Regions from separate parts of the Homo sapiens genome. Here regions 2 and 3 are each linked to region 1. The links are contacts of gene promoters, found by promoter capture Hi-C in human tissues and cell types (Jung and others, 2019). All regions are on one chromosome and are shown on one strand. Each heading gives the region's core, a stretch centred on a gene start or on the middle of the fragment in contact. The rest is flanking DNA. Distances are from core to core; before and after follow the strand shown. Region 1 holds the start of RBM39 (RNA binding motif protein 39). Region 2 overlaps PHF20 (PHD finger protein 20). Region 3 overlaps PHF20 (PHD finger protein 20).

Region 1 (3,862 bases), core at 350-2,849:
TTACATCAATAGCATATATTTACTTTTGTAAGTTACACGTAATGCATCTCTGATAAGATAAATCAAGAGGGCTCCGGGGAGGTTAGTTTACATTTCAGCAGTAGTTTCGTGAATAATGCTAAATTAAGAAATATATAAACCTCACCGACATGTTTTTTCTCACCTTCTTGTAAGGAGCCTCAAGCATTGCTTCAATATCAATATCGTCTGCCATTTTCTCTAAACGCCTAGGAAGAGAACAAGACAATTTCTTGAGTAAACATTTCTCTTACAATGTGAAACAAGTTTCACTCTTGTTGCCTATATCGTCTAACATTTTCTCTAAACGCCTAGGAAAAGAACAAGACGATTCCGTGAGTAAACATTTTTCTTTTTTTTTTTTTTTTTTTTTGAGACGGAGTTTCGCTCTAGTTGCCCAGGCTGAAGTGCAGTAGCGCGATCTCGGCTCACTGCAAGCTCCGCCTCCCAGGTTCCAGCGATCCTACCACCTCACCTCCCGAATAGCTGGGATCACAGGCGCCTGCCACCACGCCCGGCTAATTTTTGTATTTTTGGTAGAGACGGGGTTTCACCATGTTGATGAGGTTGGTCTCGAACTCCTAACCTCAAGTGATCCGCCTGCCTCTGCCTCCCAAACTGCTGGGATTACAGGCGTGAGCCACCGCGCCCGGCCTGGTAAACGTTTTTCAAATCGACTGAATTTTTCTTCTCAGCCGACACACTCGAAAACTTAAGAAAAACCTCCAAAAGCCCTACAATTAATGACTAAAGTGACATGCACTTTAACCAGGTTTGGCTTACGTAAGTAAATCCAAAACGCCTCTTACACGAAACACACGAAAATGAAGACTTCAATATCCAATATTTAAAACTCTGCTGTCAACTCCAAAAACAGAAACTGGGAGACCCGAACGAGAGCGCCTCTTTCCGGGCAAAAACCCGCGCTGCCATTTTAGGGGCAAAGAGAAACTCCCTCCATTGGGAGGGGTTATGAGCCAAGGCAGCGTTCAACTGGCGCCATGTTGGGAGGTCGCGGCCGGCCCAGGCCTCGAAGGAGACAGGTCACCATTCTACCGCGGCCTCTCGGGGGTCCCTACCGCCCCAAGAATCCAGACTATACCCGACTGGAAAATAAGGGCGCGGTCACTGAAACAGGGCCGATTTCTCGAAAACCACCCCCCACCCCGGTCGCTAAAGACCTCCAAAAGCGCCCCTCAGCCCAAAATGGAGCCAAACCTCGAGAAAGCTGAGATAATACGCGGGTCCGCAACGCCCCGTACCTGTTCCGGCCTTCGGGCGCCTGTGGTGCTCGTGTTCGGGAAGAGATTGCTGCTGCTGCTGCTGCTGCTGCCGCCGCCGCCGCTTCTGTTGCTACTGTTAAGCCCCTAGGCCCAGGCCGCGGAACCGCCCAGCCCGAATATCGGGTTCCAAGGACGGCTAGGCCCGAGAGAATCTAAAAAAAACAATGGAATTAGAGAAGCCCACGCGGGAGAGCAGGACGGCGGCTTCGGCAGCTCAGGATCCACCCCTGCGACAGCGTCGACAAGCTCCCTGAAATGGCGGCCGCTGCTTCCCTGTACTCACATTCACCAGCACACATACACACACACAAACACACGGGGCCTCACAGAGCCCTCAGCACGGGCTCTCGCGAGAAGCTGCCCCAAGCTCCAAATTTGAGCGGCCGAAGTATCGCGAGACCTAAGTATGGCTCCGGCGACCGTAGCCCAATCTCGCGCAATGATTGCGCCACAGATATTCCCATCCCCCATTCAGTGAGGCGCCTTTCACTCCCCCTCCGCGTAAGCACCCAAATCTCGCGAGACAGAGCGGGTCTCTAGGGCAAAGACAGTTGGTAGGCTGCCTGTCAATCTTTCAGAGAGCTCTTCGCTGAGTGGAGCTCAGCGGTCACCTCCCCCTCGTGGCGCCTCCTCACGGCCATCTGAAGATTCCTCCGGCACAGCCGATCGCCCCCGCTCCGGCCTCCCACACAGATGGCTGTCAAGGTCGCCATAAGGCAACCTAGTCCTTATGGCGATAGGATAAAACGGCCATATTCAGATTATCCGCTGAGGGTGGAGAGGAAGTGGAAAAGTGTATCAGAAGGCCAGAAGAAGAGATCTTTAGGGGTAGGGGGAGAGGGGGAGATAATAAAAATAGATTTCCCTGTCATTTGGAGCCAATGGCGCGGCCTCCACTGTCGAGCTTTGAAACAACCTTGGAAATAGTGGAGAAAAGCAAAAAAAAGGTGGAAAAAATAAACTCTTGCTTCCCTTGGCATGGGATCAGTTTTGTGCCCCGAATTTAATCAGCTCTTGTGTCAGGGTTGCTACCGTTCCTTCAAAAATGTTCCCCTTCCTGAATATTACTGGACGATTTGGTGAAAAAATAAGACACCCCCCCAACAAAAAAAAAAAGGCCCCCTTCCCCCTGGGACCTGGCTCCTCTCCCCTGAAGTCTTCTAGATGCCAGGTAATTAGAGTATGAATTAGCCATTTGTTCTTTGGTCAGTACTGTGTGAGGTTTCCTCCTAGATGCTGGGAAAAAAAACTGGAAAGAAGTCTTCAAAGCAAAAATCTTACCCTCTAATCTTAACAGTCTAATGATTGAGGGCAGAAAAGATTGGAAATGAGACGCCTTGATTAGTGTAACTAGCTGCTGCAACACTGTGTGACCTTGGACAAGCAAATTAACCTCTCAGAGGGGATCTTTCATTTCCTGATTTAAAAGAGGACGTACTTAGTAGCTAGTCTAAGCTACTTGAGACTGAGGAAGGCAGGTAATGCTCAGTACTGAATTTTTAGAGGTTAGCAGGGCATGTCTGCCCAAGTGGACCCTCAGTAAATTAATGAATGAAGGCTCAGAAGGGCTATAGTGAAGATTAAATGATATAATGTCTGTAAAACGCCTGGTAAATATTTGATCTTCAAAACAGCTAACTTCTGTTTCTGCTAAACAAAATTATTTAGAGCAAATATAGATGTTAAGTGGTTTTGCCTCTCAGGTTAACTTTACACACAGGTTAGGATTTATCTTAGAGGATTATTAATAACAGTTATTTTGTAGTTAGAATACTCCCTTAATCCTTTTTCTGAAAATTCAGATCCTCTTTTTATTTTATTTCTGAGACAGTCTCGCTCTGGAGGCTGGGCGCAGTGGCTCATGCATCTAATCCCAGCACTTTGGGAGGCCGACGCGGGTGGACCGCCTGAGGTCAGGAGTTCAAGACCTGACCAACATGGCGAAACCCTGTCTCTACTAAAAATAAAAAAAAAACTAGGTGGCAGGCGCCTGCAATTCCCAGCTACTCGGGAGGCTGAGGCAGGAGAATCACTTGAACCTGGGAGGCAGAGGTTGCAGTGAGCTGAGATCATGCCATTGCACTCCAGCCTGGGTGACAGAGATCGAGACTCCATCTCAAAAAAAAAAGAAAGAAAAAGAAAGAAAAGAAAACTGTCACAGGAAATTGAAGCATAATATGTCAGAAATAAAGCAAGCTAACCTTTGCTATCTCTTCCTGCCCCTCGGTAATTCCAGTATTATGACTAGTGCAAAATGAAAGCATGAAGATGGCACTTGGTTTTTCTTGTTTGTTTAGGAACATGACATGACAGAATTTGACCTTAACCGCTAGACTTCTTGTTTGGGAAGAGGAAGGATTTAAGCTCTAAGTCGCTTGATGATTTAAGGTCCCTTAAATAGTTTTCTGCTCAAGGACCATCAGAGGCAATATGGCAACTTAGCAGATCATCAAGAAAAGCCGTTTGGAAAAATCAAGTTTCTGAAACAAGTATTTTTTATGTTTAAAAGAAAATATCCCCAGGCATGGCGGCTCATGGCCTGTTATCCCAGCACTTTGAGA
Region 2 (3,862 bases), core at 495-2,994, 200 kb after region 1:
GTGATTATGTCACGGTACTCCAGCCTGTGTAACACAGACCCTGTCTCTAAAAAAATAAACTAAAAAAAAGGGATTGTAACTGATGCCACTGTCTGTGAAAAACATATTATTAGAGAGCTGAAGGAGGATATAATGTTAGACAAAAAAGTGTAGCTCTTGAGAGAATGGCAGTAGGAGTGGCTCTGTAGTCCCTGAAAAGAGGATTAGCACCATGGAAACAGGGTGAATGTTCGGTTGTTGCCACAGGGACCTTCCCTGAGGGAGAAGTTAAAGTCTACTCACATCTTACTTCCTTAATCCTCTCTTCAGCCAGGTTTGGCCTCTCTAGCCCTGCCGAATGGGCAGTGTGGCAAGGATGGTAGGCCTGAACCCCCTTCTTTGGCCTCACAGATGACCTCTTGTGTGTCTTGCTAATTCAGAGCCACATATTCTGTACATTTCTAAGACTCTAGGCCCTGAGAGAGATAACAAGAAAGCATTAAAATAAATGATAAAGCTTAAAGATTTTATTTAGGTAAACAGACTTTTGCATAGTATTTAAGATTAATCAAAATCCCTTTTTATGGAATCAACTCTTTATTTAAACACCAAGATAAACTAAGCTTTCTTTCTTTCTTTTTTTTTTGAGATGGAGTCTCGCTCTGTTGCCCGGGCTGGAGTGCAGTGGTGCCATCTCAGCTCACTGCAAGCTCCGCCTCCCGGGTTCACGCCATTCTCCTGCCTCAGCCTCCCGCGTAGCTGGGACTACAGGTGCCCGCCACCAGGCCCGGCTAATTTTTTATATTTTTAGTAGAGACAGGGTTTCACTGTGTTAGCCAGGATGGTCTCGATCTCCTGACCTCATGATCCGCCCACCTTGGCCTCCCAAAGTGCTGGGATTATAGACGTGAGCCACCGTACCCAGCCCTAAACTAAGCTTTCATAACCAAGTTTTAAAATAGGAATTTGGATGTAACATTCCTTTTTTAAAAAGCCGGCCTGCTTAGCTGGGTGTGGTGGTGCACACGTATAATCCTAGCTACTTGGGAGGCTGAAGCAGCAGAATCTAGGAGGCGGAGGTTGCAGTGAGCTGAGATCATATCACTGCACTCCAGACTGGGCAACAGAGTGAGACTCAGTCTGAAAATAAAAAATTTAAAAAAATTTAAAAGCTGACCTGGCGTGGTGGCTCACACTTGTAATCCCAGTGCTTTGGGAGGCCAAGGAGTTCAAGGTTACAGTGAGCTATGATCGTGTCACTGTACTCCAGCCTGGGTGACAGAGCAAGACCCCATTTCTTTAAAAAAAAAAAAAAAAAAGCCTAGTAAGCTATTATATGAAATATATATATATATATGCCATTGTTTTACAATTGGCCATTATTTAATTATTTATGTAGTTATATGAATAGTACTTTATTTATTTATTTATTTATTTATTTTTGAGACGGAGTCTCGGTCTGTTGCCCAGGCTGGAGTGCAGTGGCACGATCTCGGCTCACCACAACCTCCACCTCCTGGCTTCAAGCAATTCTCCTGCTTCAGCCTCCCGAGTAGCTGGGATTATAGGTGCACACCGCCATGCCTGGCTAATTTTTGTATTTTTAATAGAGACGGGGTTTCACTATGTTGGCCAGGCTGGTCTCGATCTCCTGACCTCATGATCTGCCTGCCTCGGGCTCCCAAAGTGCTGGGATTACAGGTGTGAGCCACTGCACCCAGCCTGAACAGTACTTTAAAACTAAAAGACAAAGGATATTTAATGACCATGAAAAGTAAAAAAGTCTTTTGGCATTAGAGAGATTATTTTCTTAAATAAAAAATGTTGCCTTGGTGAGCAGTGGTCTCTATACACATGATCTTAGTGTATTTGAACAGAATTTTTTCCTCTGTAACCTTCTGTCTTGCTAGCAACCACTATGCTAGTTGGAAGCTGTTCTGCATCTTTAAAAGAGACACTTGGGATGGTGCAGCACATGGTATGGAGAGGGTGGCCTGCTGGATGCTGGGGTCCAGAGGAGATGCTGTTGACTTCCCACAGTCCTGGCTTTGTTCTTCAGCCTAACAGACCTAGACAGACAGCTTCCATCTCAGGAACTCCACACACTCCTGTTAACCAAGCTCAGGCACTACTGAGTGGCTTAGACTCTTCCAGTCTGAGCGTTGGTGCGCTTTCACACTGTGCATGCCTCCTGGGCCACCGTAGTATCGGGATGTCTTTGGTGAGCCTGGAACTAGATCCAAGGTAGTTAGGGTGACCTTAAGAGGGGCCTCTCAGCAACTGTAGGATCATCTTGCAAAAGATTGACTGACTCTCTTTGCTGTTGGAGTGACCCATCCAGTCCTGACTGCCTTTTGTCCATTTATTTATTTTTATTTTATTTTATTTTTTTAAGACGGAGTCTTGCTCTTTCTCGCCCAGGCTGGAGTACAGTGGCATGATCTCGGCTTACTGAAGCCTCTGCCTCCCAGGTTTAAGCGACTCTTCCTTCCTCAGCCTCCCAAGTAGCAGGCAGATGCCTGCCACCACACCTGGCTGATTTTGTATTTTTAATAGAGATGGGGTTTCACCATGTTGGCCAGGCTTGTCTTGAATTTCTGACCTCAGGTGATCCACCTCCCTTGACCTCCCAAGGTGTTGGGATTACAGGCGTGCACGTCCGGCCTCTCCATTTATTCTTCTGCCTGTTTGCTGAACAGTCCCCTGTCTCCTTCTAGTTTTTTTTAAAGACTTACTGGTGTTTTGAAACTGGTCACTATCCAGTTTTCTTGCTCAGCAGGCCACTAGTTCCTCTCACATGACTGATCTTTTACTAATGGTTTTCAAGCTTAAGTCTGAGGAGGTGGTCTTATTTTTCTTATTTCCAAGTCCTTGTACTTGCTGGAATTAGGAAGAGAGAGGGTTCCTCCTTCTTGGAACCCCCAAATACCAACAAGAAATATGATGGAGGAGGATAAACTACATAGGGCCCAGAGCAATGGGTAGGGCGCTTTGCTGGACCACACATTCCTTCTCTCGCTGTGTTTGTTGCAGGCTTGCCACATTTCAGACACAGGTGAGTGTTAGGGATATAGTGGCAAGCAAGGCAGACTCAGCCTTTGCCCTCGTGGAACTTGATCTAGTGGGAGAGACATATATTAAACAAATCATCCCATTACCTGTAATGACAAACCATAGTAAATGCTCAAAGGAGAACATGTGATATCATAGCACCTGTAACACAAGGACCAGATTCAGGGTATAGGGTTGGGGAAGGCTTCCCTAAAGAATAGCTCACAAGAAACAGAGGATTTAGAAAGGTGGAGAGGAAGGTAGGGCTGCATCTGAGGACAGGAGAGGATTGCGCAGTAGGTTGCAGGCTGCTTGATGAAGAGGTACTGGGTGGGCCTTTCTTTTGCTGCACTCCAGGGTCCAGAAGGTGCTCAGTACAGGTTGGTGCATGGACTAGAAAGGCTACAGGCAGGCTGGGATAGCACAGGGGCTACCTGCAGGGGGTGGTTCTTGTCAAAGGTGCAGGGTTCCCAGATGGTCTCTCCCCAAATGCCAGAGCTTTAGGGGGTAGCTTAGGGAAGAACAAACATCTTTCTGTAGAGAAATACTTGTTCTCACAAGCAAGACAGCTTTCTAGATATTGAACCAATGATGATAATGTTAATTAATACCTGAAATCTTACATTAAATATTTAAAGGGGTCCTGCATGGTGGTTCATGCCTGTAATCCTAGCACTTTCAAAGTGGCCAAGGCAGGTGGATCACCTGAGGTCAGGAGTTCGAGGCCAGCCTGGCCAACATGATGAAACCCCATCTCTACTAAAAATAACAAAAATTAGCCAGGCGTGGTGGTGTGTGCCTGTAATACCATCTCCTCAGGAGGCTGAGGCAG
Region 3 (3,862 bases), core at 657-3,156, 170 kb after region 1:
AATTTGGATGCTCTAATGTTGGCATATTAGGCATCTATAATGCCTAATTTATAGATTAGAAACTAAGGTGCAGATGAGATGGATTAATTTGAACCAATATTTACAGCTCTAGCAGGTGGTGGAGCCATGATTTGAATCTGTTGTGAAGCCCATACTCTCACTTTGAGGCTCTGCTGTCTTTTATGATTCCAGGGAAGAGTGCCTGTCCCAGGCCCTGGAGTGGGAGATAGGAGTGCCTCCCTGCAGGAGACTTCCTGTGCACCTGGCAGTCTGGGGATTTCTGCCTGTTGTCACCTTGTCTACTCCTGTTCCTCAGGGACTCACCTGCCTTAGCTCAGTCCTTGCTGGGCAATTCTCTGTGTCTTTTCTAGGGCCTGCAAGTTCTGCCACTGGAGTTTACAAATGACCACTATCTTTAGCCAGATAACCAGGTATGCCCTAGCATTGGGCAGTTTTCCTCTACATCTTGCCCTCTCTGTCTCAAGGATTTAGGACCTAGATTATGTTGCTGCTTCAGGCAGTTCTGCTGCTGACAAGATAAATTCTGTTAGCATTTCACTAAGCTGATGGGTATAATTACTTTAGTTGGAGGTCACTAAAACCTGAATTTACAAATAAAAACTGGATCAGGGAGCAGTCTGTGTGTGTGTTGTGGAGGAGTGTGGGTGAAGGTACAACAGATAATATCCCTCCTTTGCTGAGATCCTTCCAGTGGCTCCCTAAATCACTCATAGTAAAAGCCAACTTCCTCACAGGGCCCTTCATCATGTTCTGCTGCTAGCCTCCATCTGCTTCTTTCCCTTACTCAACCTAATTCTAATTTCAGTTCCATTGGAGCCATACAGATCTCCTTGCTATTTCTTTATTTCAAATTCCAGTTATTCATTGCTGGCATATAGAAAAGCAATAGATTGTTGTATATTAACTTTGTGTCTTGTAACCTTGCTGTAAGTGCTGTTCTGGCAGTCTTTGTTTTGATCAATTCTTTGGGATATTCTACATAGACAGATCATCTGCAAACAAAGATAGTGTTATTTCTTCCATTTCAATCTGTAGAGCTTTTATTTCCTTTTCTGGCTTATTCCACTCGCTAAGATTTCCAGTAAAATGTTGAATAGGAGTAGAGAGAGAGGCACCTTGCTTTGTTCCTGATCTTAAGGGGAAAGCATCCAATTTCTTACCATTAAGTATGAAGTTGGCTGCAAAGAAGTTCTTTATCCAGTTGAGGAAATTCCCTCCTATTCATAGTTTGCTGCCCCATCAGCTTTTTAGGTTGGTGCAAAAGTAATTGTGGTTTTTGCTGTGACTTTCAGTGGCAAAAACAGCAATTCTTTTGCACCAACTGAATAGAATGTAGCTCTGTGAGGGACAGGGGGTGTTATCTGTCTTTGTTCATTGCAATATCCCTCCTCCCTAGAATGTGCCTGGAACATAGTATATGCATGGTATCTGTTGCCTAAATGAATTGAAACCATGGCTAATAATACGGTGGTAGTCAAACTGTGTAAAAATGAGTTTTGTTTTTATGTTTGGGGAAGACCCTGTTCTCAGGATCAATGAAAAGTAAAAATGACTGATAGCTTTTTTGAAATTCAGAAGGCATCTGACCATGTTTTGCCAGTCTGCTGTCTTTGGGCCTTGGGTTTTTGGTTTTAAAAATGAGTGCTTTTACAAATTGGTCTAAGTTCTCTCCAGCTTTCATGTTTGTTGACTTTCTTTCTAGTTGCAGGGTATTTTAAAAGTTAAGGAGCTCAAATACCCTTAAGTCCTATGTTCTCTAGCCAGTAGATCAACTCTGCCTATAGATTCCAGGCTTGCCAGCCAGTAGGCACAGCCCACTCTTCCTTTCTGATGGTTACCAAGTGCTAATTTGGGAGAGGGGCCTGGGTTGCAGAGGAGACATGGTGCTGGAGAGTCAGACCAATTTGCTTTTAAATACCTATGTGATGTCAGGTGGGTGATTTCACCTCTCTGAGCTTCAGTTTCCCGGCCTGTAAAATGGGAATGATATACACACAAGTTGTTGTAAGGATTAAATGAGATATTTGTGGTTTCCTTGCACACAAGTGCTTAGTTAAAATGGAATCTGATTGTCTACCCTGCCTCACACCTGCTTTGTGGATATCTTGATTCCATATCAGAATCACTTGGAAAGTTTTAAAAATCCTGATATCCTTGAAAACATCATGCTAAATGAAAGAAACCAGACACAAAAGGTCACATATTGTATGGTTCCATATTTATGAGATATCCAGAGTAGATAAGCCCATGGAGTCAGATGCAGGTTGGTGGGGCTGAGGGGAAGGGCTTAGGGGAGGGGAAATGCTGCTTAATGGTAAAGGGTTTTACTTTGGAGTGATGGAAATGTTCTTAGAACTATATCAAAGTGGTCGTACAACATTGTGAATGTACTAAATGCAACTGAATTGGTTGTTTTTCTTTACAGCTGTATCGAGACTTAATTGTACAATGAACTACACATATTTAAATGGTATAATTGGTGAGATTTGACATATGTTTATACCCAACTATCACCACAATCAAGATAGTAAACATATTCCATTCCCTCCCAAACTTTCCTCATGCCCCTTTTTAGTTCCTCCTTCCCACCTCTCCCCTCCCCCTGAGCTCCAGGCAACCACTATTCTGCTTACTGTTACTTGTGGTGTGTTTTCTCTCTTTTTTCTTCCCCCCCGAGATGGAGTCGCTGTGTTGCCCAGGCTGGAGTGAAGTGGCACGATCTCAACTCACTACAACCTCTGCCTCCTGGGCTCAAGCGATTCTCCTGCCTCAGCCTCCCAAGTAGCTGGGATTACAGGCATGAGCCACCACACCCAGCTAATTTTTGTATTTTTAGTACAGATGGGGTTTTATCGTATTGGTCATGCTGGTCTTGAACTCCTGACCCCAGCTGATCTGCCTACCTTGGCCTCCCAAAGTGCTGGGAGTGAGCCAGCATGCCCAGATGGTTTGTTTTCATTTTGCAGACTATTGTAGAAATGGAATCCTGCAGTGCGCACTTGTTTTGTCTGGCTCCTTTCACCCAGCATACTTTGAGATTCACTTATGTTGCTGTTCGTACCTTTTTTTCTATTTTTATTTTTTGAGACGGAGTCTTGCACTGTCGCCCAGGCTGGAGTGCAGTGGCCAGACCTCAGCTCACTGCAAGCTCCGCCTCCTGGGTTCACGCCATTCTCCTGCCTCAGCCTCCCCAGTAGCTGGGACTACAGGCGCCCGCTACCACGCCCGGCTAATTTTTTCTGTATTTTTAGTAGAGACAGGGTTTTACCATGTTAGCCAGGATGGTCTCAATCTCCTGACCTCGTGATCCGCCCGCCTTGGCCTCCCAAAGTGCTGGGATTACCGGCATGAGCCACTGCGCCCGGCCTGCTGTTCCTACCTTTATTGCTGAAAAGTCTTCCATTGTGTGGATACATCATGAATTATTTGTACATTCACTTGATGGACATTTGGGCAGTTTTCAGTTTGGGGCGATTACAACTAAAACTGCTATGAGTCTTCATGTATAAGTCTCTATGTGGACGTAAGTGATGCTTTCTCTTGAATGAATATGTTGTAGTGGATGGCAAGGTCATAGGATATATGTACGTATAAACTCTTGTTGATATCTAAAAAGTAAGGCATGGTGAATTACTTGAAATCCTATAAATATATTTGGTAAGAGAAGAAGAAACGACTGGATTTTTTTGTTTGTTTGTTTTGGAGACAGATTCCCACTCTGTCACCCAGGCTGGAGTGCAATGGTGCGATCTGGGCTCACTGCAACCTCCGCCTCCCCGATTCGAGCAATTCTTCTGCCTCAGCCTCCCAAGTAGCTGGGATTACAGGCATCTGCCACCAC

What was found. Contacts are between HindIII fragments. The study calls those that stand out against the background at their distance.
Region 2: a fragment that was not itself captured here is called in contact with the fragment with the promoter of RBM39 in region 1 in 5 of the 25 tissues and cell types used here (heart right ventricle, mesenchymal stem cells, pancreas and 2 more).
Region 3: a fragment that was not itself captured here is called in contact with the fragment with the promoter of RBM39 in region 1 in 1 of the 25 tissues and cell types used here (bladder).

What each region holds. Positions count from the first base shown.
Region 1 is chr20:35,740,661-35,744,522 of GRCh38, forward strand. RBM39 (RNA binding motif protein 39) reads right to left here and starts at 1,600. Exons shown (of 17, transcript NM_184234.3): 1 at 1,281-1,600; 2 at 164-227. The coding sequence starts at 214. RefSeq lists a silencer at 980-1,079 and enhancers at 1,340-1,489, 1,503-2,188, 1,550-1,769, 1,940-2,039. The HindIII fragment of the contact is 31,582 bases long and covers 1-3,862 here.
Region 2 is chr20:35,942,217-35,946,078 of GRCh38, forward strand. The region is part of intron 17 of PHF20 (PHD finger protein 20); the gene reads left to right. Among named protein-coding and RNA genes, the nearest start is that of SCAND1, 10 kb to the right of the region's middle. The HindIII fragment of the contact is 3,743 bases long and covers 1-3,616 here.
Region 3 is chr20:35,907,954-35,911,815 of GRCh38, forward strand. All of the region lies in intron 10 of PHF20 (PHD finger protein 20), which reads left to right. Among named protein-coding and RNA genes, the nearest start is that of SCAND1, 45 kb to the right of the region's middle. The HindIII fragment of the contact is 7,158 bases long and covers 1-3,862 here.